6 separate regions of the Homo sapiens genome follow, and regions 1, 2, 3, 5 and 6 are each linked to region 4. Evidence: promoter capture Hi-C in human tissues and cell types (Jung and others, 2019). All regions are on one chromosome and are shown on one strand. The core of a region is centred on a gene start or on the middle of the fragment in contact, and the rest is flanking DNA. Distances in the headings are between cores, read along the strand shown. Region 1 holds the start of TMEM214 (transmembrane protein 214). Region 2 overlaps EMILIN1 (elastin microfibril interfacer 1). Region 3 overlaps DRC1 (dynein regulatory complex subunit 1). Region 4 holds the start of SLC35F6 (solute carrier family 35 member F6). Region 5 overlaps SELENOI (selenoprotein I). Region 6 overlaps OTOF (otoferlin).

Region 1 (4,694 bases), core at 2,118-4,617, 270 kb after region 4:
TCTTTTGGGTCTTCAAACCCCACGGCGGGGCCTACCCAAGCCCACCTCCGTGGCTAGTGTCTAAGGCTGCTCTTCAAACACCCAGAACTTAAGGATGTAAAGCCACTCCCTTCTCCCCACCTCTTCCTGGTACCTCATACTAAGTGCTTCTTTCCTCTGGAACACTAAGATGGTGAACTGTAATTTTCTGTTTATACATTTGTCCCCCACACAGACTTCAAGTTCCTTACAAGCAAGTGAGCTATATCTTCCAGCTCCACCTAGCACAGGGCCTGACACAGAGAAGGTGCTTAGAAAAGGTTGCTGGATAAGTAAATGCATGATTTATATGTCCTAGATGCCAAGTTAGAACTGGTAACTTACTAGACTATTCCAATGAAAGATAGAGTCCCTCTCCCACCCTTCTGTGTGTCTCCACCATGGGGCAGCCCCCTCATTTGCCTCAATGGAAAGCCAGTTCTGTTTCTCTTCCAAAAACATGGTCTCTTCTGTGATCATACATGTGACACAGGAGGGGTCAAACAAAGAGAAGATATTGTTGTTGGTCTCCTGAGTACACCTAAACCAATGATCTGCAAAATGAATTGATTAATGATCAGTTCAAATATGGTCCTTGGCAAAGGCACTGTATCTCAGAGCTACCGGATGCAAAGTCAGCCATGGTCAGGCCTAAGGGGGCTGGAGGACAGGTAGAAGGAGGCAGCAAGATATGCTCATCTCCCACCCCCTGCCTTCCCCTACCAACACTTCACACAGCCACATTTACCCTTCCAAAAGAGTGGATTATGCCACCCTCTCACTGGTCTCCCAGGGCCTGAAGGATAAAGTCCAGATTTGGCAGGCAAGTTCCTTGGCATATGGGCTCAGATCCCTTTCCAAACTCATAAGAGGCTATTGTTGCATTGCTATAAAGAAACATCTAGACTGGGTAATTTATAAGAAAAGAAGTTTAATTGGCTCACAGTTCTGCAGACTGTATAGGAAGCATAATGCTGACATCTGCTTCTAGGGAAGCCTCAGGAAGCTTACAATCATGGCGGAAGGCAAAGGGGGAGCAGGCACATCACATGGTAAAAGCAGGAGCGAGCAAGCGAGCGAGAGAGAGAGGTGGTGGGGAGGTGCCACACACTTTTAAATGACCAGATCTCATGAGAACTGGGATCCACCATGAGGGATCCACCACCATGATCCAAACACTTCCCACCAGGCCCAACTGCCAGCGCTGGGGATTACAATTCAACATGAGACTTGGGCAGGGACAAAAATCCAAACTATATCAAACCTCATCACCTCCAAAGTCCCATCAAGCACTGTCCCATTGAACTGCTTCCAGTTTACCACCCTCTAGGCCTTTGTTTTACATCAACAGATCCACACAACTGGCATTTTCTCTCCACCCACCCTAACCCTCAGCCAGTGAACATTCAATTTTGTTTTTTGTTGTTGTTGTTGTTTTGGGTTTTTTGAGACGGAGTTTAGCTCTTGTTGCCCAGGTTGGAGTGCAGTGGCACAATCTCGGCTCACTGCAACCTCCGCCTCCAAGGTTCAAGCGATTCTCCTGCCTCAGCCTCCCAAGTAGCTGAGATTATAGGCCTGCGCCATCATACCTGGCTACTTTTTTGTATTTAGTAGAGATGGGGTTTCACCATGTTGGCCTGACTGGTTTCGAACTCCTGACCTCAGGTGATACCCACCTCGGCCTCCCGAAGTGCTGGGATTACAGGCGTGAGCCACGGCGCCCGGGGAACCAATGAAAATGCTATTTCTCAGAACCTATCTCAGCTGCCGTCTCCTTCGGGAAGCTAAACTCCTTCCTAAGGAATGCATCGCTCCCTCAGCTGTTCATCCTGTAGGAATTTGGACTCTCTTAGTTCTTATCATAATACCTCAGTATGGCAGGTAGGAATCTCATCCTCACACACAGTTGTACATGAAATAGCACATTTCCTTAATTGTGATAAGTCACTTTGATTTTATCTTCCCTCATTCTCCTCTGCTGGCATGCTTCAAGGTTCTGAAGGCTCCCAGGATACTAACACCCTCCACGTGGATGTCTGAGCAGGAACCTGTCTGCAGATGCCTCAAGTCTGGGGCTCTCCATCGCTTCCCTGACACATCTGGAACTTGGGATTGACTCTTATGGTGGGAGGCAGAGCCTGTTCTTTCTCATTGCCTGGAAGGGGAAACCCGGCCCTGGCTGTCCCAGACCCCCAGACTTTTCTCAGCCTCCCATGAGAAGAACTCAGAGGCCAGGAGCGGTGGCTCACTCCTGTAATCCCAGCACTTTGGGAGGCTGAAGAGGGTGGATCACTGAGCCCAGGAGTTTGAGATCAGCCTGGGCAACACAGCAAAACCCAGTCTCTACAAAAAATACCAAAGATTAGCCGGGGGTGGTGGTGGGTCAGGTGATCCGTGGTGGGGGATCACCTGAGCCCTAGAAGTTGAGGCTGCAGTGAGTCGTGATCGCGCCACTGAACTCCAGCCTGGGCGACAAAGCAAGATCCTGTCTCAAAAAAAAAAAAAAAAATTATTCTCCATTCTCCACCTCCTACCCCAGCTCCCCAACACTCTGCCCTTTCCTCAAGCCCCCATCCTCTTCCTTGTTCTTTGGCAATAGATTTGTATAGCCCATTAAACCCGAGGTTTAATCACTAGCAACAGTAAAGCCAGCACTTTCCTAGAAGGAAGGAAGCATTTAATCTTCAATCTCTCCCTAGATATGAGGAGCACTACTTCCCTTCCATCCTTCCAGCTCTACGAGAAAGGAAAGAAAAACAGTGGCCGGGCGCCGTGGCTCACGCCTGTAATCCCAGCACTTTGGGAGGCTGAGGGGTGGGGGTGGGGTGGGTCACTTTAGGTCAGGAGTTCGAGACCAGCCTAGCCAACATGGCGAAACCCCGTCTCTACTAAAAATACAAAAATTAGCTGGGCTTGGCAGCGGGAGCCTGTAGTCCCTGCTACTCGGGACGCTGAGGCACGAGAGTCGCTTGAACCTGGGTGGCGGAAGTTACAGTGAGCTGAGATCGCGCTACTGCACTCCAGTCTGGGCGACAGAGCGCGGCCCTGGCAATCAATCAATCAATTGATCAATAAAGGAAAGAAAAACAGAAACAGTTCTACCAAGTCTCTCAATGCCGTGGCCTTCACATCGACGCTCAATGAACGTTCTCAGAAGGGAATCTCCTCTCCTCCCGGCCTCTTCGCCTGGGCGGGGGCCGCAGGCTGCCGCGGAAGCCTCTTCCCGATGCTCTTCGCTCAGGAGAGCCCGGCCCAGGAGAGGGACTACAAGTCCCAGGCTGCCTTGCGGCGGGCGCCGGGCGCCGGGCGCGCGGTCCTGCGAGGAGACGTGGCAGAGTGCGGCGCGCTCGCGCCGGACCGGAAAGCCGGGGAAGTGGCCGAGGAGGGAGGGCTGCGAGCCATGGCGACCAAGACGGCGGGCGTGGGGCGGTGGGAGGTAGTGAAGAAGGGTCGGCGGCCTGGGGTCGGCGCCGGCGCCGGCGGCCGAGGAGGCGGCAGGAACCGCAGGGCGCTCGGGGAAGCAAACGGAGTGTGGAAATACGACCTGACCCGTGAGTACCCGCCCTGCCCCGCCGCCTACCCCAGGCCTGTCCGGCAGGGTCGCAGCGAGCGGCTCCCAGAACCTGGGCGCGAGCTCGCAGGCACATCCCCGAGCGCCACGCTTGCGTTGTCTCTTTGGAGCCTCACGGGAGGCAGACAGCTCCAGGGAAGGTTGCGGTCCTCACCTCCCAGATGAGTAAACTGAGGCCCAGTGAAGTTGGATACCTTGGCCAGGGTCATGTGTCAGAGGGGCTAGGATTCCGGTCCTCAGACTCTCAGTTCACTGCACACACTCTCCCAGCTGCCCAGGGCCCTAGCTGGTCTCTCTGGGCAGGTGTCTGAGCTTTGAAGAGGTACTGTGGATCATTATACACGGTGCCCCCTCTTTAAGTAACCAGCAGGTCATGGAGGAAGGGACAGGAGGCCCAGCAGTGGGAGAAATGACCGCCACACACTCAACACTCACCAGGAATTATAAGTGACACCTGGTTCTTCCACTGAGGAGTGGAGAAAGATTGCCACTTGTTGATTATAGAGTTGTCATGTCGGAACCAAGAGGCGTTAGGGTAGGACCAAGATGGAAAAAGCTTGTCTTCCCAGACTAGTAGCCACTCACTGAATAAGGCAAACCTCTATATCCAACCTCTCTGCTTGTTCCTACATACTCTGATTTGTCTAATGAAGAACTGCCCCATCTTTATGAAAGAGCCCATAGACTCAAGAGCTGTAATGAAAGAAGCTACCAGGAGAACAGCCTGCCCTGCTCCTTAAGCAGTCCAAGAGGAAGGGGCTTTGAGACAGGCTCTTCCCTGGAGATGAATTAGGTGGCAGTGTGGGGAAAGGGACCACTGATAGGTGAGGCCTTGGGGACTCAAGGGTGGCCTGCCTTTCTCTACCTATCTTCACCCCAGCTGCAATCCAGACCACAAGCACCCTTTATGAGCGGGGCTTTGAGAATATCATGAAGCGGCAGAATAAGGAGCAGGTCCCACCCCCTGCTGTGGAACCTAAGAAACCAGGGAACAAGAAGCAGCCAAAGAAGGTGGCAACTCCTCCCAACCAAAACCAGAAGCAGGGCCGCTTCCGCAGCCTGGAGGAAGCACTGAAAGCTGTGAGTGTGCCTAGACATGAGACGC
Region 2 (4,302 bases), core at 349-2,848, 320 kb after region 4:
TAGGGTCACAGCCATTTTGAGGAGATACTGAGACAACAGTTTGGCTGGTGGGAGACTGAGGGCAAACCTGCCTCACGCGCCAGCCCCAGATGCCTTCTCTGGGATGGCTCAGGCTCAAGCAGAGGAGTTCAAGGTTCCAGCACAGGGCAAGGGAAGGAAGAGCAGGGATTTAACCCTTGGCCAAAAAGCTGACAGCTGTCAGCTAAGCAAGGCCACATGTTGGACAGTAAGAGGGACCCAGCCTGAGGGACAGGCCATGCCCACCAGCAGCTGCCCACCCCTGAGGACAGGGACCAGGGTCACTGACCGTACAGGGAGGAATAAAGAGGCCTCCTTCTGCCTCTGCCAGGTACCGCCGCTTCCTCCGCCCTCGCTACCGTGTGGCCTACAAGACAGTGACCGACATGGAGTGGAGGTGCTGTCAGGGTTATGGGGGCGATGACTGTGCTGAGAGTCCCGCTCCAGCGCTGGGGCCTGCGTCTTCCACACCACGGCCCCTGGCCCGGCCTGCCCGCCCCAACCTCTCTGGCTCCAGTGCAGGCAGCCCCCTCAGTGGACTGGGGGGAGAAGGTGAGTGTGGGAGCTGCTGCGAGGGTGGCAAGTTCCAAATGGTGATCCAATGCAATGGGAAATGTGGGGCCAGGCTGCTGGGGGAGTCCCCCGTGCTCTATGCCAGAGAGAAGAGAGGGGCAGAAGGGTTAGTGAGATCGCAGAGATTCCCTGCCCGTGTGTGTGTGTGTGTGTGTGTGTGTGTGTGTGTGTGTGTATTTGTGTGTCTGTGTGAGAGAGAGGGAGAGAGCACGCAAAAGATGGAGAGACTGAGAAAAAGAAGGCCAAAAAAGAGAAGGTGCTCGCACACGCCCCATGTGGCCAAGATCCTTCAAACAGCTGCAGGAGAAAGGGGCATTCCTTTGAGAAGCTTGGTCCGTGGGGACAGACAGTTGAGACTACAAATCCTAGCATGCATTGCACCTGACTACAGATCCCAGACCCCTCCGTGGCCTCTGGAGACCGCAGGTCCCAGCATGCAGCAGTTCCTGTGGCTTGCCTTCCCTCCTGCGTGCTGCACACCGGATGTGCTGTTTCCCTGCCCCGAGATAGCCTTACTATAATTATGCAAACAGGAACTCCTGGCCAACTCTCACCGTCCACAGAGCCTCTTCTTTGTCCCCGTGGTGTTGCAGGGAAGTGTCACCCAGTGGTAGCTACTGTTGTGGCATCCAGAGTGCCTCCCTACACTCCCATTTCGCCCCTCTTGACAGCCCCATGACAGAAGAGTGTCATTATCCTTTCGCAGAAGAGGAAAGAGTTTCCAAGAAGTTAAGAGGCACTCTGGGCAGGTGGAAAGGACATGGACCTGGGGGCTGGATAGATGGTCTGGGTTTGAAACTTAGCACTGCCATTTATTAAACCTGTGATCCATGGCCAGGCACCTAATATCTCTGGTCCAGTTTCCCAGCCTATATGATGGGAAGAGTTCATGGTATCTCCCCAGGGGAGTTATTGAAGAACAGAGCCATGGTTCATATTTGGCCTAGAGGCATTCAGTGAATGGAGTTTCTTTTTTTTTCTCTTGCCAAAATCACCCAAAGGAGAGGCAGAGCCAGCCTGGGCATCTGACCCTTGCTGGAGCTGGGGTGAGCAGGGGCCTTGAGCTCTGGGGTCCAGCCCCTCTGCCTTCTGCCTTCCCCTCTCCTCAGGTCCTGGGGAGTCAGAGAAGGTGCAGCAGCTGGAGGAACAGGTGCAGAGCCTGACCAAGGAGCTGCAAGGCCTGCGGGGCGTCCTGCAAGGACTGAGCGGGCGCCTGGCAGAGGATGTGCAGAGGGCTGTGGAGACGGCCTTCAACGGGAGGCAGCAGCCAGCTGACGCGGCTGCCCGCCCTGGGGTGCATGAAACCCTCAATGAGATCCAGCACCAGCTGCAGCTCCTGGACACCCGCGTCTCCACCCACGACCAGGAGCTGGGTCACCTCAACAACCATCATGGCGGCAGCAGCAGCAGTGGGGGCAGCAGGGCCCCAGCCCCAGCCTCAGCCCCTCCGGGCCCCAGTGAGGAGCTGCTGCGGCAGCTGGAGCAGCGGTTGCAGGAGTCCTGCTCCGTGTGCCTGGCCGGGCTAGATGGCTTCCGCCGGCAGCAGCAGGAGGACAGGGAGCGGCTGCGAGCGATGGAGAAGCTGCTGGCCTCGGTGGAGGAGCGGCAACGGCACCTCGCAGGGCTGGCGGTGGGCCGCAGGCCCCCTCAGGAATGCTGCTCTCCAGAGCTGGGCCGGCGACTGGCAGAGCTGGAGCGCAGGCTGGATGTCGTGGCCGGCTCAGTGACAGTGCTGAGTGGGCGGCGAGGCACAGAGCTGGGAGGAGCCGCGGGGCAGGGAGGCCACCCCCCAGGCTACACCAGCTTGGCCTCCCGCCTGTCTCGCCTGGAGGACCGCTTCAACTCCACCCTGGGCCCTTCGGAGGAGCAGGAGGAGAGCTGGCCTGGGGCTCCTGGGGGGCTGAGCCACTGGCTGCCTGCTGCCCGGGGCCGACTAGAGCAGTTGGGGGGGCTGCTGGCCAATGTGAGCGGGGAGCTGGGGGGGCGGTTGGATCTGTTGGAGGAGCAGGTGGCAGGGGCCATGCAGGCATGCGGGCAGCTCTGCTCTGGGGCCCCTGGGGAGCAGGACTCTCAAGTCAGCGAGATCCTCAGTGCCTTGGAGCGCAGGGTGCTGGACAGTGAGGGGCAGCTGCGGCTGGTGGGCTCCGGCCTGCACACGGTGGAAGCAGCGGGGGAGGCCCGGCAGGCCACGCTGGAGGGATTACAAGAGGTTGTGGGCCGGCTCCAGGATCGTGTGGATGCCCAGGATGAGACAGCTGCAGAGTTCACACTACGGCTGAATCTCACTGCGGCCCGGCTAGGCCAACTGGAGGGGCTGCTGCAGGCCCATGGGGATGAGGGCTGTGGGGCCTGTGGCGGAGTCCAAGAGGAACTAGGCCGCCTTCGGGATGGTGTGGAGCGCTGCTCCTGCCCCCTGTTGCCTCCTCGGGGTCCTGGGGCTGGTCCAGGTGTTGGGGGCCCAAGCCGTGGGCCCCTGGACGGCTTCAGCGTGTTTGGGGGCAGCTCAGGCTCAGCCCTGCAGGCCCTGCAAGGAGAGCTCTCTGAGGTTATTCTCAGCTTCAGCTCCCTCAATGACTCACTGAATGAGCTCCAGACCACTGTGGAGGGCCAGGGCGCTGATCTGGCTGACCTGGGGGCAACCAAGGACCGTATCATTTCTGAGATTAACAGGCTGCAGCAGGAGGCCACAGAGCATGCTACAGAGAGTGAAGAGCGCTTCCGAGGCCTAGAGGAGGGACAAGCACAGGCCGGCCAGTGCCCCAGCTTAGAGGGGCGATTGGGCCGTCTTGAGGGTGTCTGTGAACGGTTGGACACTGTGGCTGGGGGACTGCAGGGCCTGCGCGAGGGCCTTTCCAGACACGTGGCTGGGCTCTGGGCTGGGCTCCGGGAAACCAACACCACCAGCCAGATGCAGGCAGCCCTGCTGGAGAAGCTGGTCGGGGGACAGGCGGGCCTGGGCAGGCGGCTGGGTGCCCTTAACAGCTCCCTGCAGCTCCTGGAGGACCGTCTGCACCAGCTCAGCCTGAAGGACCTCACTGGTGAGGGGACAAAAGGCATGAGGGGACCCCTTTCAAGCCCCTTATTTTTCTTCTCCCTCCCCCAGCCCAGCTTCCAACTCATCTGCTTTCTCCTTGCTTTTCCCAACATGAATTGCAGCCCCAGCCAGTATTCCAGGTGTTATAGTTTGCCTGCAAGAGATGATGCAAGGTCCTAGCTCCCGCCCTCCCTCTGGCTGCTCACTAGGCCTGTGGGTGGAGAGAGGATGTTGCTCTGCCAGCCAGGGATCCAGCATATGCAGCAAGGGACCCCATGGCCCCCTCAGCCTGCAAAGCTCCACCTGTTCCATCCATCTTCTCCCTGTTCATGAAGCCACCACCCACCTTCCTTACCCATTGGAAACTCCTTTTATGGCCCTCCTTCAACTCAATTTTGTCACTGTAGGGCCTGCAGGAGAGGCTGGGCCCCCAGGGCCTCCTGGGCTGCAGGGACCCCCAGGCCCTGCTGGACCTCCAGGATCACCAGGCAAGGACGGGCAAGAGGGCCCCATCGGGCCACCAGGTATGTGCACTGAGACCCTTGCTGCAGTCAGGGTTGCCACTGCCCCCTCCAACCCTGACCCCCGCTGGCAGCCCCAGGCTTGACATTCCACTCTGAACTTGACAAGGGGAATTGGGTACTACCTGACCGATAAGGGAAAATCAGAGGAAAGTG
Region 3 (4,610 bases), core at 556-3,055, 340 kb before region 4:
AAGCTCTGTTCTGTATTCAATGAAACTACATTTCAAATTTTTCATATAATAGTGAGATCAAGTGAAGTCTCTGGTCATTTCTGTGACTCCTTGGTGTAGAAGTTTTATAGGTTCCTAGTTTAAAAATTATTTGAGAGTTGGAGAGTTCATAAGTTCCAAAAAGACTTGAAAAAACTTAGGCATAACCTAAGGATACTCGAACTTTTTGTTGAGAGGATTTATCATCTTGAATAACATCACAACAAGGCTAGGAGTGAAGATACTGGAGATGGAATTTACGAAGAGGGATTTAGAAGGATGGCACCAATTACAAAATCCCTGAGCCCATTAAGGAGACAGCAGTGCAGCCAGCTACAATCTTTTCCTGCCTTAGAATCCATGTAATGAAAGACTCCACATATCATTAGCTGCAGCAGGACAGAAGCTTGTTTCTCTGTCTCAACAGTTCCGAGTATAAGTAGTCCAGGGCTCACATGGATGGGGTCTGCTTGATGATGGGACCTCAGCTCCCTCTGCCATTGCTTGAGTTGCCTTTATCTGCTCATCACCTTTTACTTGAGCCCCACATGCCAGCCTGGGAGAAGGGGCAGAAGTGGGGCAGCAGAGGGTACACCTTTTCCCCTTAAAGTCACAATTCAGAAGTGGCACACATTACTTCTCCTGTGTCACTGATCAGATAGTATTCTAGGTGCAAGGGAGGCTGGGAAAGGTACCTATTTTGGGAAGCCACATCCCAGCAAAAATTTGAGTGTTCTGTTACTAAAAGGAGAGGGAGAAATGGACATGGGAGCACAGCTGTCATTACCTGCCTCACTGTCATTATCTGCCTCACTGTCATTATCTGCCTCACTGTCATTACCTGCCTCACCTCCCCAACTGAGGTTCTTCGAAAGGCTCCCGGCAGTGTCAGTCACTTGGAGATCTGCTGGGGACAAGGCTGAGATGAATGTACAATATCTGCTGGTATAAAAGTTGGCTGGTGCCTTCTCTACAGTGAATAAATAAAGTACATTGAGAACTGCAGAGTGCTTTTTTTAAAATTTTTTATTTTGCCCAGGATTGGACAAAAACTTACCACAGTAGGATACTAATGATGCCCTTCTAGCCAAACGCAGTGGCTTTTCTCCAGGCCTCATCATATTATGACTGGATACTGGACTTTTCTTTCTCTTTTTCTTTTTTCTTTCTTTTTCTTCTTCTTTTTTTTTTTTTCTGAGATAGGGTCTCACTTTGTTGCTCAGGCTGGAGTGTAGCGGCGTGACCTTGGCTCACTGTAACTTCTGCCTCCCAGGTTCAAATGATTCTCCTGCCTCAGCCTGCTGAGTAGCTGGGATTACAGGCACCCGCCACCATGCCTGGCTAATTTTTGAATTTTTAGTAGAGATGGGGTTTCACCATGTTGGCCAAGCTGGTCTCGAACTCCTGACCTCAAATGCTCCACCCACCTTGGCCTCCCAAAGTGCTGGGACTACAGGCATGAGCCACTGTGCCTGGCCAAGAACTGCAGAGTGCTTTTAAATTGTGAGCTGTAAAATCACATCACAAATGTCCTGATAGAAAAGGGTTGCTACACAGAGGCTACTCTTAAAAATCTTAAGGTAGTTGCTGCTTCCTGCTTGAATGGATAGAAGCTGCGGACAGTTGTGCAAAAATGTTTCAGACTTTATATATTATTTACAAAGTGTTCTAGCTTTGTAAATTCTTATATCTCTCTTTTTAGAAATTGGCTAAACTTCTGCTCTGTGGCACCGAGTTGGTGACAAATATCCAGGTGGCTATAGATATCAGAGAGATTCACAGGAGAGTCGAAGAAGAGGAGATAAAGCGTCAAAGGTAAGGACTGTGCTACTCTGCAGCTGGTGGACATGAAGGTAATCTCCATGGGTCCGGCAGTTCTCCCGAATTGTTGGAGGGTGACTTTGTCCACCTTAGACAATTCCCTTCCTGCCCTTATAACTTCTCCCTCCCTCCCTCCTCTTCTTTCTCTCTCTTTTTTTTTTTTTTTTTTTTGAGACAGAGTTTCGCTCTTGTTGCCCAGGCTGGAGTGCAATGACGTGATCTCGGCTCACCGCAACCTCCACCTCCCAGGTTCAAGTGATTCTCCTGCCTCAGCCTCCTGAGTAGCTGGGATTACAGGCATGCGCCACCAAGCCAGGCTAATTTTGTATTTTTAGTAGAGACGGGGTTTCACCATGTTGGCCAGGCTGGTCTCGAACTACTGACCTCACGTGATCCACCCGCCTTGGCCTCCCAAAGTGTTGGAATTACAGGCGTGAGCCACCGCGCCCGGCTATCTCATCTCTTTTCTTTCCTCCCCTCCTCAAGCACTACATTGCTGATACGTGCCAAGCTGTGTGTATACAAAAGGAGTGAAACACGGCCTCTGTTTGTGGTATTCACAGTCTAGTCAAGAGACACATGGAAACACCCATAATTCGTGGTAAAATAGATAATGTGTAAAGGGTTGTAGTAACACACACAAGGAGGCCTTTAATTCTATCTGCAGAGATTACAGAAAACTTCCCAGGCAAGGTGACGTTGAGCTGGGCTGTGAGGGATGAATAGGAATTTGAGGAATTGAAGAGTAGGCATTTTAGGCAGAGGGAACACTTGAGCAGAGGTGTGAGATCACATGATGTGCTTGGGAATGGCATGATAGCGAAGGATGTATGCGGGTAATGGAAGAAAAGAGAAGAGGCTAAGAAGGTCAACTGGGCAGTCCTGGGTTTCAATTGGTGAGAATGACCAGACCCACGAATACCTCAGTGTTATGTGTAAAGGTGGCAGCATTATTAAAGAATATTGAGGGCTCCATGCATAGAAGGATGGAGGTTCACAGGGATCACAAGAACCTGCGTCAAGTCCTCAGCTCCAGTCCTCAGGAGGCAGGCTGCCCTGCACGCCCATGTCCCAGGTCTCAGGCTGTCCAGCAGGGAGGCATAAGCGGCTTAGAAGAATTAAACTTCTTTGGTTTGCACACAGAAGTAGACTGATAGCAGGTCCTCATTTAAGCTTTGGATTGTTCTTCAATTAATTTCTTAAACAATTAGAAGAACAACCACTTGGCCAGGCACGGGGTGGCCCACGCATGTAATCCCAGCACTTTGGGAGGCCGAGGAAGGCGGATTGCTTGAGGTCAGGAGTTCAAGACCAGCTTGGCCAACATGGTGAAACTCCGTCTCTACTAAGAACACAAAAAATTAGCTGGGTGTGGTGGCGCGTGCACACCTGTAGTCCCAGTACTCAGGAGGCCGAGGCAGGAGGATCACTTGAGCCCAGGAGGTGGACGTTGTAGTGAGCCAAGAGTGTGCCACTGGACTCCAGCCTAGGCAATGGGAGTGAAACCTAGTCTTTAAAAAAAAAAAAAAAAAAGGCAACCACTTGACCATTTTGTCTCATCATATACACACAGGGGTCGATTTTAACAATATTTTTAGTTGTTCAGCATAAGCAGTTCCCTCTTTAGCAACTTTAGCAGCCCTACCAGTAAACGTGGGTGACTTTTATTCTCGAAACTTCCCACTGCCTGTATGGGCTGTGCCAGGAATGGAGTCGGCAGATTCCCAGCAGGGTCAGCTTGTGAAAGGCAGGGAAGGTCATGCAAGGAGTTAGGCCTTGTCCTCTAGCCACAGAGGAATGCTGAAGGTCCCAGGTGGCAGGTTACAAGGTCAGTGTGCTGCGGAAAGATGACCTGACAGCTCTTTCTCATTTCTTGAAATAAAAAAGTCAATTAAATTAAAAAAGTGTCCTAGCTTGGAAGGTGGGGTGGGTGGGGGATGGGACAGGAAGAGGGGATTGCAGGATGTTTAAGCTGTGACTTCGGTTCCTCAGGGGGTTTGTTTGGAGGTGCTCTCATAGGATTAGTCTGTTACAAGGAGCAGAGAGTCTCTGGCAGATATCTTAGCCACTGTTCCCAGAGGGGCCCCAGCTCAGCTCTCCTGCCTTCCTGCCACCTCGCCCCAGCCTCGGTGTGCTCTATCACGGAGGTTCTTTGGAATTTATGGAAAGGCTGTCCCTATTTTCCATCACTCATTGGTGGAGTTTCCATATTTGTACATTCCACTAGTCATTTATTGGTAACTTGGGAGAGGAGTAGCCAGACACTTGAGGTCATGTTGCTAATATAAAATTGATAATTTAAGCACCATGTGTTAAGTGACTCCCATGCTGAGCACCTGTGCTGTGTGCAGCATCTTATTTCATCCTGACAACAGCCAGCCACTTGAAGGTAGATACTTTTCATCCACGCCATTTTACAGAAGAGAAAAGTGAGGCTTGAGGGAGTTATGCAACTTGTCCGAAAGGTTGACAGTCAGTTAGGAGCCAAGTCAGGACTTGAACATAAGCTCTGTGACTCCAGAGACCCAGTGTTTAACTGTTGTGTGTTATCATCTTACTCAGAAGCAGGTGACCAATCGATCTTGGTGTGTGTGCGTGTGCACGCGTGTGTATGTGTGTGTGTGTGTAGCCTTAATGTTGATCTGTTTTTGCTATGTGTCATTTTCTTTACTTGGCCTAAGTTATTTACAGTCAAGCGTTAAACGAAAAGATTTCTCAGCATTGAGTTTGATTTTGGGCGGGTGTGTTTGGGCAGTGCCTAGTACCTGGGT
Region 4 (4,650 bases), core at 1,067-3,566:
AGATGGGGTTTCACCATGTTGGTCAGGCTGATCTTGAATTCCGACCTCAGGTGATCCACCTGCCTCAGCCTCCCAAAGTGCTGGGATTACAGGTGCGAGCCACCGCGCCTGGCCTTTTTTTTTTCTTTTTTTAAGACAGGGTGTCACTTTGCCACCCAGGCCGGAGTATAGTGGCATGATCTCAGTTCATTGCAACCTCCACCTCCAGGGACTCAAGCGATCCTCCTACTTAGCCTCCTGAGTAGCTGGGATTATGGGTACTTGTCATGACACTCAGCTAATTTTTGCATTTTTAGTAGAGACTGAGTTTTGCCATGTTGCCCAGGCTTGTCTGGAAATCCTGAGCTCAAGCAATCAGCCCGCTTCAGCCTCCCAAAGTGCTAGGATTATAGGTGTGAACCACCACACCCAGCCAAGAGTAGGATTTTAAACACCAGAACCCCTTGAGGACTAAGCTCTGATTTTTTTTACCTTGCCCAAATTCCTACCTAAGAGGTCTGGAGAGTCATGCCCTACAAACCATAAATTCTCATCAGATGGGTTTTATTTAACCCTATATATCATGACTTACTTTCCAATCTGACTCTGGCATAATATTATGTGACTAAGAAGAAAGTCAAAAGATTTTACCCCAAAACATTTTTCTTTGCCATATCTTGAAATGGCCCTGCAAATCTGTCTTTTGTGGGGGAAAATTTGCATCTGTAAAGAATCTCTATTACCGGCCGGGCGTGGCGGATCACGCCTGTAATCCCAGCACTTTGGGAGGCCGAGGCAGGTGGATCAGGAGTTCAAGACCAGCCTGGCCAACATGGTGAGACCCCCCCCATCTCTACTAGAAATACAAAATTTAGCCAGGCGTGGTGGCAGGCACCTGTAGTCCCAGCTACTTGGGAGGCTGAGGCAGAGAACTGATTGAATCCGGGAGGTGGAGGTTGCAGTGAGCCGAGATCGCACCACTGCACTCCAGCCTGGGCGACAGAGCAAGACTCCGTCTCAAAAAAAAACAAAAATCTCTATTAACATAGATAGATATTTTTCCCGTTTCCTGCCCCACCCTCTCCCCTCCTCCCGGCTTTGAGTTGTCCTACCTTTCTGGACCAAACCAATGTATTTCTTAAATGTATTTGATTGATGTCTCGTGTCTTTCTAAAATGCTGCGCCCCGACCACTTTGGGCACATGTTCTCAGGACCTCCTGAGGGCTGTGTCACGGGCCATGGTCACAAATATTTGGCTCAGAATAAATCCCTTCAAATATTTTAGAGTGTGACTCTTCGTCAACACCCTCTTCAAACAAACCTAGGGATGGTCTTTCTGCCTGGATGCCTCAGCTGCGACCAGAAAGTCCACAAAGGAGCAGTGAAGCAGGGCTTGGTGCAGAGGCCATGCGGAAGGCACGGATTTTTGGAGACTGGAGAACCCAAGCGCAAATCCCTACCCCACTGCTCACCAGCAGGTTCTTAAGCAAATCACTCTGCTTCGCTGAATTTACTGTCCTCAGCTATAAAATGGTGTCCTCGGCAACTGGAGCTAGATGCCTTCGCCACTTTGCTGAAAGATATGAACTGTGCCCAAGGTGGGCGGTATCAGATAGGAGCCCCGAAGTGGAAACGTCCAGCGTGGGAATCTCCTCTCTACAGGGTCCCCAAGGAACTCCCGGCAGGCCCACTTCAGGGCTCCTTTCTGACACCGCCCAGCTCAACCTCTCAAAACGATTCACAAAATGCTGTAATAGCCACGATGCACCCTCACTGCACTGTCCCATCCGCCCCTTTTACAAATAGGAAGACCCAAAGATAAAAATAAGAAACCAAGGCCAGGCGCGGTGGTTCACGCCTGTAATCCCAATACTTTGGGATGCGGAGGAGGGCGGATCACCTGAGGTCGGGAGTTCGAGACCAGCCTGGCCAACATGGTGAAGCCCTGTCTCTACTAAAAATACAAAAAATTAGCCGGGCGTGGTGAAGGGCGCCTGTAATCCGAGCTACTCGGGAGGCTGAAGCAGGAGAATCGCTTGAACCCAGGAGGCGGATATTGCAGTGAGCCGAGATCATGCCATTGCACTCCAGCCTGGGCGACAGAGTGAGACTCCTTCTCAAAAAAATAGAAAAAAGAAACCCAAAAAGGCGGGGGAGAGTGAGGAAGAAAAGAAAAAAAAAACTGGAAGGCCTGGGCCGTGATTTGCCAGGGCCACGGCGTGGCCACCAAAGCGCTCCAGGACGACTCGGCAGAGCGCGGGCACCGTGGCTCAGGCGCGCTCCCCGGGGGCGGGGCGAGCAGGAGGGGTCACGTGACGCCCGGCCCGGAAGCGCTCGCGCAGGAGACCCCGGGTGACGGGGCCCGGCGCCGCTAACTGGAGCGAACCCCAGCGTCCGCCGACATGGCCTGGACCAAGTACCAGCTGTTCCTGGCCGGGCTCATGCTTGTTACCGGCTCCATCAACACGCTCTCGGCAAAGTGAGTCTGGGCCCTGCCGGGCGTGCGGGCCCTGGCGACCCCGGCGCTCGTTCTACGCCTTCCCCCTTCTTGGCCCTGCCCTCCTGGCTTCCCCTGCTTTCCCACTTGCTCCGGTCAGTTCGCGCGCGTTATGACCACCCAAGGGATGCGAGGCCCGGGGAAATGCGGAGCGGGGCTGCGCCCCGGACGGGGGGATCCGAGCCCCGGCTTTGATTTGCTGTACAGCCTCCGCTCCTGTTTCCACGTCTTTTAACAGGAGGGTTGGCCGATTCCTTTCCACGGCCCTTCCAGTGCTGGCGTCCAAGCCTGAGCACCTCCCTCCACGAGCTGGGAGAGACCCCTGGACTTGTGCACATGAGCCGCAGTAGTGGCTGTGCAGGCCGAGTGACCCAGTGAGCGTGGAGGCCTCAAGCGGCAGACAGGGAGGTGCCCCACGGCCCCTCAAGGATGAGGGGTTAGAGCTGTGCTTTGAAGCTTAGGTGGGATTTCGGAATGTGTCTGAGACTGTAAGTCAAGGAAAGTCTACGGAAAGGCCAGATCAAAGTCGATTGTAACCAGCATCAAATGCCCAGGTTAGATTTTCTCTCATAATCAGAAAAGTGCTTTTGAGCTGGGGAATGACATGTTGAAAGTGATATGATTGACTCAATGACATGAGGAGTGGTTTGGTGCAGGAAAAACCACTCCAAGGCTGCTGCATAGCAGATGAGGGGAACTAGGAGGTGGCAGTGAGAAGAGAAAGGAAGGGACAACTGGTGGCAGAGACCAGGTGTGAATGGCCACAGGCCTGACCCACATGAGCAAGAAACAAGGATCACTCCAGGGTTTCTGCCTGGGAGAAGAAAAGTGCCATTAACTCAGACAGAGAGGGCAAGTGGCCAGTTCAGCTCTGATGTATGGGGGTGAGAGGGGGGACAGTTCCCAGGAGGTTAGGGACTAAGGACCCAGGCAGTCATGAGACTGAGGGACAGGGCCTAGCCTCCCCTCTGTTGTGGGCAGGATGGCATTTCTTTGTCTCTCTCTGTCTCCATCTCAGGGCAGGGCCTTCCTGCCCCTCCTTTTCTTGTTGCCCAGGCTGGAGTGCAATGGCACGATCCCATGTATAAGGTACCTACGGTGTGTAAGGGAAGGGGACAGAAGTGACCAAGAGGCGATCTCTGCCTTTGAGATGCTTGGAATCTGAGGTGGAGGAGACAGACGTGTACGCACACGACAGTCACAGTGTTCTCCCTTCCCCAAACGGTGGGCACAGTCAGTGGAGTCCTGGGTGGGCCCCACCTGTTCCTCTGGTTCACCTCTGGCCAACTGTGCCTTGTGGAGAACTACTAGCTTCCCAGGCCCTGCATCCTCCTGAGGATCACTCCTCATGCTGAATCCTTAGCTGTTCAGAGGCCCCAGCCTGAGGGCTCCCATCTCAGGATCTGAACACAGCAAAGCAAGTCTTCTGTTCTGTCATGCCAGCCAGGGCCTCTGTCAAGTGCTTAGAGAGCGGTTGTAAGTCCACCAGGGCTGCTGCCCACAAGGAGAATCCAGATTGCCAGTTACTGCTGGGGTAAACTGTGCTGATTCACCTCCTTCCTTAGAAAACTCCAAACCAGTCAGGTAGGAAGCTTAGAGATCCTCAATCCCAGAAGGCGTCGCCTTTAAAGGCTGCCTGAGAGTCAGGAAAGAGGCTCCCAGGTGACAGACCCAACTTTTGGTCCTGTCCCCTGCCTGACAGCTGGTGTGGGGCCTCTCAGGATCCTCCCACCCCAAGATGGGCCCCCAAATTGGACCCTAAACAGTGTTCTAAGGTCAAACCACAAGAAGGGATACTCTTAGGGAGAAAGAACATGTGGGAGCAGCTGCATGCACCCCGATGTGAAGTATGGATTTGAAATCACATTTCTGGCCCGGCGCGGTGGCTTACGCCTGTCATCCCAGCACTTTGGGAGGCAGAAGCGGCTGGATCACTTGAGGTCAGGAGTTTGAAACCAGCCTGACCAATATGGTGAAACTGCATCTCTACTAAAAATACAAAAATTAGCTGGGCGTGGTAGTGCGCACCTGTAGTCCCAGCTACTTGGGAGGCTGAGACAGGAGAATTGCTTGAACCCGGGAGGCGGAGGTTGCAATGAGCCAAGATTGCACCACTGCCCTCCAACCTGGGTGACAGAGTGAGACTCGGTCTCAAAAAAAAAAATAAAAGGAA
Region 5 (4,810 bases), core at 759-3,258, 400 kb before region 4:
AGGCACTTTTGGAGCCAGTGGTCAGCCTGCTCCTGCCCTCTGCTCCAACATCTTCTCTCTCACTCATTTTATCTTCACTCTGTTTCACACCCAGCTTCTGCCCCAGGCCAAAGAATTGGGATGACGAGGGAATAGTTGGAGACAAGTTTTGTTTTTATTGTTCAGTCAGTTGATTGCATTGAGAGGAATAGAAAGTTGGAGATAGATGGGCATTTTTTGCATTCTAAGAGAATTTTCCAACAGTAATACTTAGAAATGATGTAGTCAGGAGTGTTAGTGTTATAATTCATCTGTGTATGAGTTCAGCAGACTTTTCTGGACTGACCTGGAGAAACTGAGTACCACTGACAACATTGTTTTAGTAGAAAAATTTGGAGTTTCAAACACTTAAGACTTTTTTTTTTTTTTTTTTTTTTTTGAGACGGAGTGTCACTCTGTCGCCCAGGCTGGAGTACAATGATGCCATCTTGGCTCACTGAAACCTCTGCCTCCCAGGTTCAAGCGATTCTCCTGCCTCAGCGTCCTGAGTAGCTGGGACTACAGGCGTGTACTTCCATGCCCAGCTAATTTTTGTATTTGTAGTAGAGCAGGGTTTCACCATGTTGGCCAGGCTGGTCTCAAACTCCTGACCTCAAATGATCCACCCGCCTTGGCCTCCCAAAGTGCTGGGATTACAGGTGTGAGCCACTGCACCTGGCCAAGACTTTTGATACTATAGAAATTCCAAATATTGAAAGTATACATATGCTGAACTTTACTGAAACTTTTAGCCATAGCTTCTGTACATGTAATAAAATGGTAATTGAAGTTGGAAATGCCAACTCTGAAGCATGAGAAGATCATAAAGTACACATGAATAAAGAGTAAGATTAAATTTTGTTAAGCATTGTTTGGGTATTGTGGGTTTTTAAAAATTTATTTATTTATTTATTTATTTTTGTATTTTAATCCTCAGGACACCCTAAAGAATGTATCTTTGTAACTAGAAATACTATTTTCTTTGACAACTCTAAATAAGATTATTTACTTAGCTATTAACAGCATCAAACATATGTAAATGTTATATATATCTCCCCAAATCATATAAGTTCAAGGACCAGATAAACCATCTGTTCCCAAAATATTTGGAAAATACAAGATGGGAGAGATTAAATGATACATTCAAGGTTACACTGCTGGTTGATTACAAAGCCAGGACTAGACCCTAGACTTTCTGATTCTCAGTTGTTTTGTCTTAGGGGAAAAAGTGAGCTCTAGATATTTCAGAATGATTCTGATGCCCAAATCATTCAGTTGAGGTGATCTATCTATACCCAAATCAAAAGGTCTTTTGTTTAGCTAATTAATAGTATAGGAAAGGATAAGGTGAAGGCTCAATACAAGTTTGTAATACAGTCATAAACAAGAATTAGATTAAATGCAATTAATTTCTAAATTCCAAAAATATATTATTTTTCATTGTAGGCGCATGAAAATTATTTATTTTCAAGTAAAGGTGAACACTCAGTCTTGAGTTACGATAAAAGCTCAAAATAACTGCTTACTGTTTGTGACAGGCTGGGATGTTGCTTTTTTGGTTTTATCAGTTTCCTGGTATTATTTACGTAATTCTGGATTCAAAATATATTGTAAAGTACTTTAACTTCTAATGAACAAATAGCGACACTTCTCACTGTCAGTATATGCTATGGTAAGAACTACTGTACTTAAACTGTATTAAAATCTTAGTTGCTTTCCTTTTCAGCACCAGGTCACAAGCACGTGCCTGACTGGGTTTGGATTGTAGTGGGCATCCTCAACTTCGTAGCCTACACTCTAGGTAAGGAATTGGTAAATACTTACTATAGTCAGTGACTGGTGAATCAGCAAGGATAGCCACGTATTAAAATAACATTTTCTCCTGTGCTTAATTCATTTTAACTAGAGTTTATTAGTATCCTGTTCAAATTGATAAATATGTTTTTGAGTTTCTTTACAAAAAATTTTGTCATTCATTGCCAGGGATTCACAGAATAAGATAAGAGTTGGTAAACTACTACTTGTGGGCCAAATTTGGTGTGTAGCCTATTTTTGTTAGTAGAGTTTTACTGGCACACATCTATGCTTATTCCTTTATATATTGTCTATGGCTGTTTTCCTGCTATAAAGACACAGTTGAATAGTTGCAACAAAGACTGTATGGCCTGCAAAGCCTAAAATATTTATCATGCGGCCTTTAAAAAATATTTACCAACCTCTGGAATAAGACATCATTTTTCTTAAGTTTGGGAAGCAATACTGTCATATGTAATAATTAAAAAATAGTATGATAGAACACAGTGGGAAAACAAATAAGGAAGTGATCAATTCTTTTTTGGTACAGGGAGCGGTCAGGGAGTGGGCAGGGAGGCCTACTGTGCTAGACCATGCTGTCTGTCCTGCCAAGAATGCTTTTCATTAGGATTATCCACATGGCTTGTCCTGCATTCTTCTCTCCTTCCCTGCTTTATTTTTCTCCATAGCACTTAAAACCATGTAACATGTTATCTATTTACTTGCCTGCTTGTTTGTTATCTCTCTTTTCTAACTAAAACGTTAAGTTTTGTGAAAGTGAGTACTGCGTTGTTCACTACTGTATCCCCAGTATCGTAGACACTCGGTACATAGTTTTTAAATACATGTAAAATAGCAGACCCTGACTTCAAGTTGCTTAGATCTCTTCAGATAAAAGTGACTTGTTCTCATAAAACCAGCATAACCTGCTACATGATTAAATGCTGATATGGTAGATGTCATGCTGACCAGAGCTGCAAGAGTTTGGAGAAGGAAGAAATCAGTGACGTCTAGAAGAATTAAGGGAAAGCTTAGTTAAAAGCTACATATTTAGGCAGAGGTTTTTGCACATTTGTTATTAAAGATGAGCAGGTCTTTAAGTGCTGCTGAAGGATTTGGTTGCCAAGGACTGCTGAGAGGAATAGGGAAAAGTTGAGAGTGGCTGTGAGCTCTGACTTTTGACAACACGCCGTAAGATCCTTTTGATGTACCATCTACTTGTTCTAGGCCCACAGTTTTCTGGCAAAAACCCTGGTCTGACATGAACTATTTGTTGCAAACCAGTCTTGAACGAACATGAAGCAGTTTATAATCTTTATTCTACCTAGTGTGACTATTCATGACATTTTGCTGCAGAAATACTAAGATGTTTGATCACAGGATGCTGCTCTATGTCCTACTGGGGAGTCTCTGATAATATATGATATATGCCCTGAATTACCTTTTTAAGAAAAAAAAATTCTAAAGCATATCTGGACCTCAGACTTGTGGAGATGGAATGGGTGTAGTGAGAAAATGTATAAAACCTAATTAATACATAGTTATGAATTTAGTATTGTAATAACTGTATAGGAGTTACATTGAAAATGGGAAATTGTTAAGCCAGTAAATAATGAGAAAAGACTTTCTGGGAATATTTTAGCTACTTCAGGGCAAAAACTTTCCCAACCCTGTATAACAGAAATCTGTAGTATTTGGATAGGGAGTTTGGGATTCATCTTTTCATATAGTCTTCAACAATATATTATGCCACAGACTGATCTAGGCACTGGGGAATGTACTTTGGTGAGCAAGATTAACCGTAATTATAGGAGTTAATTCCTTAATCTGAATTTTTTCAGTTAGCCTAATTCTAATGCACTAGTTAACAAAACTGTTTCTTTTGGGGGAAAAATTGTACAGTTCAGTGAGACAGGCTGTCTCTAACAGGCTCTTCTGTTTCTGCCTGTAAAATGAAGGTATTCTACTGTGCTTTATCCTAAACTCTGGCTTTCTCCTCATTCCCTTGGTAATGGTGATTCTCACTCTACAGTCTTAGTTAAGATTCTCATGTTTATATCTAGCCCTGATCTGTGTTCTGAGTTCCTAATAAGTACCCTTGGATTGAGTTCCTTGACATTACCATGTGGATATCTCACTAACATTTCAATTTCAGTATCTAAAATTGTACTCTGCATCTTGTCTGTCACTCTTGCTGCTTATTCTGACTTCTTTTTTTCTATTAACACTACCACTATCTTCGTTACCCAGAATAGAAACTGGAGATTCTCTTCTTGTCCTTAGGCCTTATCCCTCATCTTTTGCGGCATTTTATCATTTTTATTTCCTCCATCTCACCTACCACCAGTTTCTCATTCCTACTGCATTTCATCTCAGGCCTACTAATTAGTGTCCCTCTCTCCAGCCTGTCATTCATACCGTCAGGTGCCTCTTCCTGAAACATTGCTTTCATTCTTGTGATTTCTCTATTCAGATACCTTTAGTAACTCCCCATATTCCCTACAACTTTTAAACTGGCTCAAACCTCCTTTTTGACCTTTTTATATACTTCACTCTTAACATGCTAGTCTCTAGTCAAACTAAGGTTCTTGGCATTTTCTGAACATGCATTGTGCTTTTCCACCCTGGTGTGTTTTGCTGATAGCATTCCCTCCTCTTTTTTTTATTGATCATTCTTGGGTGTTTCTCACAGAGGGGGATTTGGCAGGGTCATAGAACAATAGTGGAGGGAAGGTCAGCAGATAAACAAGTGAACAAAGGTCTCTGGTTTTCCTAGGCAGAGGACCCTGTGGCCTTCCGCAGCGTTTGTGTCCCTGGGTACTTGAGATTAGGGAGTGGTGATGACTCTTAATGAGCATGCTGCCTTCAAGCATCTGTTTAACAAAGCACATCTTGCACCGCCCTTAATCCATTTAACTCTGAGTGGACACAGCACATGTTTCAGAGAGCACAGGGTTGGGGGTAAGGTCACAGATCAACAGGATCCCAAGGCAGAAGA
Region 6 (4,737 bases), core at 829-3,328, 260 kb before region 4:
TATTTATTTATTTATTTTTAATTTTCTTTTGAGACAAGGTCTCCCTCTGTTGCCCAGGTTGGAGTGCAGTGGTGCGGTCTCGACTCACTACAACCTCCACTTTCTGGGTTCAAGTGATTCTCCTGCCTCAGCCTCCCAAGTAGCTGGGATTACAGGTATGCGCCACCACCATGCCTGGCTAATTTTTGTATTTTTAGTAGAGACGGGGTTTCACCATGTTGGCCAGGCTGGTCTTGCAATCCACTCATCTCGGCCTCTGAAAGTGCTGGGATTACAGGCATGAGTCACTGCACCCGGCCTGCTTTTATTGCATTATACACTGTATGTATTGGAAGTGAAAATAATTTCACATTTGCATCCTCATAGCTCTCACTCAAATGTTTGCAAGGTTAATTGTGAATGAACTTGTCGGGAAACACTATGCTACCAGGTTAAATACAACAACCGTTTTGTTCAGTTCGGTTTAAAAAGTCTTTGGAGGGGACAATGTCTGGTCCAGTTAATAAAAGTCTCTGGTAGGAGGCAGTTTGAAAAGGTTTGGAAAACAAGCACTAAGTAGCAAGATGAAGATGAACCAGGGACCCGAAGGGAGCAGCTGTCTAGAAGGCTTGATATAGAGAAGTCAATTGCTCTTATGGCTATGGCCAGACACCCCTGGCCTTGAACCCTGGCTCTAACCTTGGCTAACTTAGTGGCAACGACCTGGGACAAGTTCCTGACCTTCCTGGGGCCTCACTTTCTTACCTATAAATGCAGTAACACCTATATTTGGGTGGTTGAAGAATTACATTAACTTCAATGGAAATACATATATAGCTCCTAGCACAGTGCCTGGCATAGAATAAACCTTCAAAAATAAGTTTCATGAACAATAATGACTCTATTTTTGATGTGTCCTTACCTCTTAGGCCAGTGACATGATACCTGAGTTGGGGTCGTTGTTCTTTGGAATTCTCCAGTTCTCAGCACACAGAGAAACAAAGCCCTGAGCCCAATCCCTTGGAAAAGCCCTCGGAAGTCTCAGGACACTTTGTGTTTGGGTTTTGGCAGAGGTGAGGGGCCGGCATTCTCAAACCCCTAAGGAATCCAATGGCTTGAAGTTATTTAAAACCACAGGGGCAGGTCCGTTTGACATTGCCTGGGGCTGTTTTTCAGGCACCTGGGAAGACAGTTGCCTGAGTAGATGGAAACTAACTAAAACAAAGATGAAGGGAGATGAAGTATATTCTGGAGAAAACATGGCCAGATGTACCTTTTACATAGAAAAGTGCCATCTTATCCTTTCCATCATCACCTGAGTGAGGGGAGGTGGGGTTGTCCGTAAAGAAGGGTTAGTGTGCTTGGGGTCTGGAACTAGGCATCAGAGATAAAGCTCTACCCTGGTAGATGGGGCTCACTCTGATTCTGGGGCCTGGTGCTGATACCCAGACCGAACATCCCCAGGACAGAAGTGCAGTGGCAGCCAGGTGAGATCTCTTGCAAGCCCTGTCCCCTCTGAGCAGCCAGCATTCTAACTCAATCCTAGGAAAGCCCAGCAGTCTTCTGATTTATAGCTGAGTCCTGTTAGCCTCCAAGGGAGGGTCTGGAGCAATGGAGGGTCCCTGGGCCCTTCCTGAGAGATGGTGTCCCAGCAGCCACCAGACATGCTCATCACCTGTCCTGCCTGCACTGTTGGCCACATTCACATTCTTACAGCTGTCAACCTCTCTTTGTCTCAGTCTTTTGTCTCTGGTCTTAGAAGCACACAAATAAAAAAGTTGTGTTAATCTCAGAAAATACAGAGAAGCAAAAAGAAGAAAAAAATCACTCACAGTCTCACCATCCAGAGATAAACAGAATCGTCATTACTTCCAGCAATCAAATAATACAAAACAACAATTTAAAAATCATGCCAGGAAAACTTTCTTCAAAGGCCCTTATTTTAACTGTTTGAATACTTTTTTGTAGTTCTTGGTCTCTTTATGGTTTTTCTAGGTGCTTCTCACTTTATGAAGTCCAATACTGAACATGAAATACTGGAAGGGCTTTGATTAGCATAGGCAGAGTTCTCAAGCTTTTCTTTGGGTTTGTATCTCTCTACTGATGATACTTCTAGGAATGCCTCCCAGGAACAAGCTTACTTTGGGAACTTATATTCAGCTTGTTGTTCTCTATGACCCCTGGATCCATGCCTCAGTATAGTGGATAATGCACATCCGGCTAGAATCCCCCACTAGAGCAGAGTCTGAAAGACATGAGGCCTCCAGGTGCCCACCTACCTGGTAATCCATGGGCCGCCCAGCACTTGGCTCCATCTTAATGTCTGGCTTAGATCTGAGGAAGAGAATGTACCATCAGGCCTGGGGTATGGGGACTGCTTGTTGGGGAGGAGGACACTGGCAGTGGTTAGACCTGGGAGTGGGCAGAGGGACAGAATCATGGTCTTTAAACACTCAAGCACTGCCAAGAATAGTGAGGATTAGTTGTCTTCAGAGGCCTCAACACAGAGAACTAATCAAAGGCAGAAGTAACAGAGAGACAGACATGGGGTCAATAGGTTCAAATATGGGGTGGGCAGGTCTGTGGCTTCCTTGGGCTGGGAGGTATTCAAGGACCTGAGAACAGGCCTGCAGCTGCTGTGCTCTGCTTTTGCAGGGAGAGAGGTGAGAAAAACACCCAAGGAAAAGCAGAAAAGGGTAAGGTTAGGTTAGGAAGAAGCCGTCCATGAGCCCTGATTCTTCCCTACCCAAATTCCAATCATGGCAAGCCAGGTCCTGCCTGACAGGGTGGGGGCAGCTGGGGTTGCAGGGCTCCCGTCCACTCACCGCTTGTTGGAGACATTAGTGGTGAGAGCTGTGACTGAGGCTAGAGACACCGAGTCGGGATCCAGTCCATCTCCTAGCCGAATGGCCAGATGGTCAAGGTCTTCCATCTCCAGCACCGCCGGTTCATCTGGGGAAGATGAAAGACTGGTTAGGTGGGCTGACTGATGGTGAGATAGTGACCATTTCTCCTTTTACTCTGGCATCCAGAAAGCTGAGAGTTAAATTCGAGGTTTACTTAGTTGCTACCGCTTAGAATATTATGGCCTGAATAACTGCAGTGTTTTTCTACCTAATCCCGATCTTGGATTTGAATGGCCATTATGTCTGGTCTTGCCTTTTTATTTTAATTGAATGCTCTTTTATTGTATACCACTTACTTAGGCACTGAATATCTCTTATGGAAGAAGGTAGGGAATAAAGAATCCATACTTTTGCACCTCTCAATAAATAGCTACCATTTGTTGGGTGGATACTCTCTGTTCCAGGCACAACACCAGGACTTTACATGACTATCTCTAGTCCTTAGAGCTGTGCCCTGCCAAGATGGGCGTTATTCTCATGTCACAGGTACAGAAACGAAGGCTTAGGAAGTAACTTATCCATATCAAACAGCTGATGGAATTCAGAACCTAATGCATTGGTGTGTATTCATCTAATGAGATGCAGACATGTGGATTCCGAACAGCCACCCAAGGATGCTGGGTTTGGTCCTCAGCCAGCAGCTGTACTCTCTCCATTTAAGAAGGTGAAGGGCACGGCTGGAATTGGCATGGGGGCAAGAGGGTGGGGGAGAGAGCCTGAGGGCCAGTAGGCCACAGAGGGGATGCTGGGGGAGGGCAGCCGGGAGCCCCGATGGTGGGCCCGTGATGGAGAAGATGGCCCCCTCCCAGCTCCCCTGTCCTCTCCATTTCTCCCCTTGTCTTCCTCCAGGCCTCCCGCCTCCTCTGCAGCAGCTGTCTTCCCCTCTCCAGTCGCTCCTCCGGGAGGGCCCAGTGCCACCTGCTGCTCCAGCCTCCCAGGCCCGGCCCTGCCGCGCCCTCCAGCGGCCCCAGGACCTCCCCAAAGGCCAGGCTGCAGCCTGGTGAGAGCGCTTGGGCGAGGCCTGCCGCCGACCCCGTACTAGTGGGACAACGGTTTCCCCCCAGAAATAGGGAGTTGGCCAAACAGCGTTTCTTGATGGATATTCTCTGCTCTAATTAAAACACTGGGCTTCTGCGTGAAGAAGGAAGAACCGGGAGCAACGAGGGCGGGAGGAGCCTTGTAACCAGGCACCCCCGACAGAGGGCGCTGCCCGTTTCCCTCCCTCGGCCCTAGGGCGTCTCCTTCCTAGAGGGCCACGCATCACTGGGTGGGGCCTGGCCCTGGGACGACCTATCCCAGGAGGGCCTTTTGGCAGCCGGGCAGGGGCTGGAAAGCGGCGGGAGGGCGCCGCGAGGCGCGGGGCTGCGGGGCTCACGCGGCACCTGTCCTACCTGGTCTTTGGGGCTCCTCCTTGTGAGACCGGTTTTTGCCGAGCTTCATGGCGGAGAACACGCTCCTCCCGGCTCTGTGAGGGGGGCCACCAGAATGAGGTGCAGGGAGAGGGACGCATGGAGGAAAACACACAAACACAGAAGAGCCAAACATGAGAGAACACATCAGAGAAGGGAGATGGACCCGGCCCCTCACCTACTGGTCCCGAGACAGATCGGGATCTGTCTTCCCAAATTGGGAGCCAGGAGGGGGAATCAGGGCAGTGAGAGACCCCTCCACTTCCGCCTTTGCCATCCTTTCACACACGGAGGAGAGGGATGGGGTCCCCAGCAAGCAGGGAACGTGGTCTTGAGCCGGAAAGAGCCGTTTTAACTGGAGCTCCTCTGGGTCTTGGACTTTTCAGTCTGATCCCAGCCCCTCAGTCTAGTCTCCTCAGAGCTCCGAGCCCTGCCAGTGTCCC

What was found. Contacts are between HindIII fragments. The study calls those that stand out against the background at their distance.
Region 1: a contact is called between the fragment with the promoter of TMEM214 here and the fragment with the promoter of SLC35F6 in region 4, in 1 of the 25 tissues and cell types used here (mesenchymal stem cells).
Region 2: a fragment that was not itself captured here is called in contact with the fragment with the promoter of SLC35F6 in region 4 in 1 of the 25 tissues and cell types used here (pancreas).
Region 3: a fragment that was not itself captured here is called in contact with the fragment with the promoter of SLC35F6 in region 4 in 1 of the 25 tissues and cell types used here (pancreas).
Region 5: a contact is called between a fragment that was not itself captured here and the fragment with the promoter of SLC35F6 in region 4, in 1 of the 25 tissues and cell types used here (mesenchymal stem cells).
Region 6: a fragment that was not itself captured here is called in contact with the fragment with the promoter of SLC35F6 in region 4 in 2 of the 25 tissues and cell types used here (liver and mesendoderm cells).

The regions. Positions count from the first base shown.
Region 1 is chr2:27,029,598-27,034,291 of GRCh38, forward strand. It overlaps TMEM214 (transmembrane protein 214), which reads left to right and starts at 3,368. Exons shown (of 17, transcript NM_017727.5): 1 at 3,368-3,569; 2 at 4,470-4,669. The coding sequence starts at 3,419. RefSeq lists an enhancer at 2,991-3,280. The HindIII fragment of the contact is 11,592 bases long and covers 1-4,694 here.
Region 2 is chr2:27,080,383-27,084,684 of GRCh38, forward strand. It overlaps EMILIN1 (elastin microfibril interfacer 1), which reads left to right. Exons shown (of 8, transcript NM_007046.4): 3 at 350-570; 4 at 1,701-3,629; 5 at 4,033-4,149. Among named protein-coding and RNA genes, the nearest start is that of EMILIN1, 3.9 kb to the left of the region's middle. RefSeq lists an enhancer at 937-1,196. The HindIII fragment of the contact is 5,307 bases long and covers 1-4,252 here.
Region 3 is chr2:26,419,568-26,424,177 of GRCh38, forward strand. It overlaps DRC1 (dynein regulatory complex subunit 1), which reads left to right. Exons shown (of 17, transcript NM_145038.5): 3 at 1,721-1,833. Among named protein-coding and RNA genes, the nearest start is that of DRC1, 20 kb to the left of the region's middle. The HindIII fragment of the contact is 5,834 bases long and covers 1-4,610 here.
Region 4 is chr2:26,761,968-26,766,617 of GRCh38, forward strand. SLC35F6 (solute carrier family 35 member F6) reads left to right here and starts at 2,317. Exons shown (of 6, transcript NM_017877.4): 1 at 2,317-2,459. The coding sequence starts at 2,383. RefSeq lists an enhancer at 1,974-2,173 and a silencer at 2,184-2,493. The HindIII fragment of the contact is 8,469 bases long and covers 1-3,501 here.
Region 5 is chr2:26,365,402-26,370,211 of GRCh38, forward strand. SELENOI (selenoprotein I) reads left to right here. Exons shown (of 10, transcript NM_033505.4): 4 at 1,745-1,819. Among named protein-coding and RNA genes, the nearest start is that of ADGRF3, 21 kb to the left of the region's middle. The HindIII fragment of the contact is 6,132 bases long and covers 1-4,810 here.
Region 6 is chr2:26,499,496-26,504,232 of GRCh38, forward strand. It overlaps OTOF (otoferlin), which reads right to left. Exons shown (of 47, transcript NM_194248.3): 6 at 4,277-4,350; 7 at 2,805-2,931; 8 at 2,259-2,313. Among named protein-coding and RNA genes, the nearest start is that of OTOF, 57 kb to the right of the region's middle. RefSeq lists a silencer at 4,215-4,344. The HindIII fragment of the contact is 3,846 bases long and covers 156-4,001 here.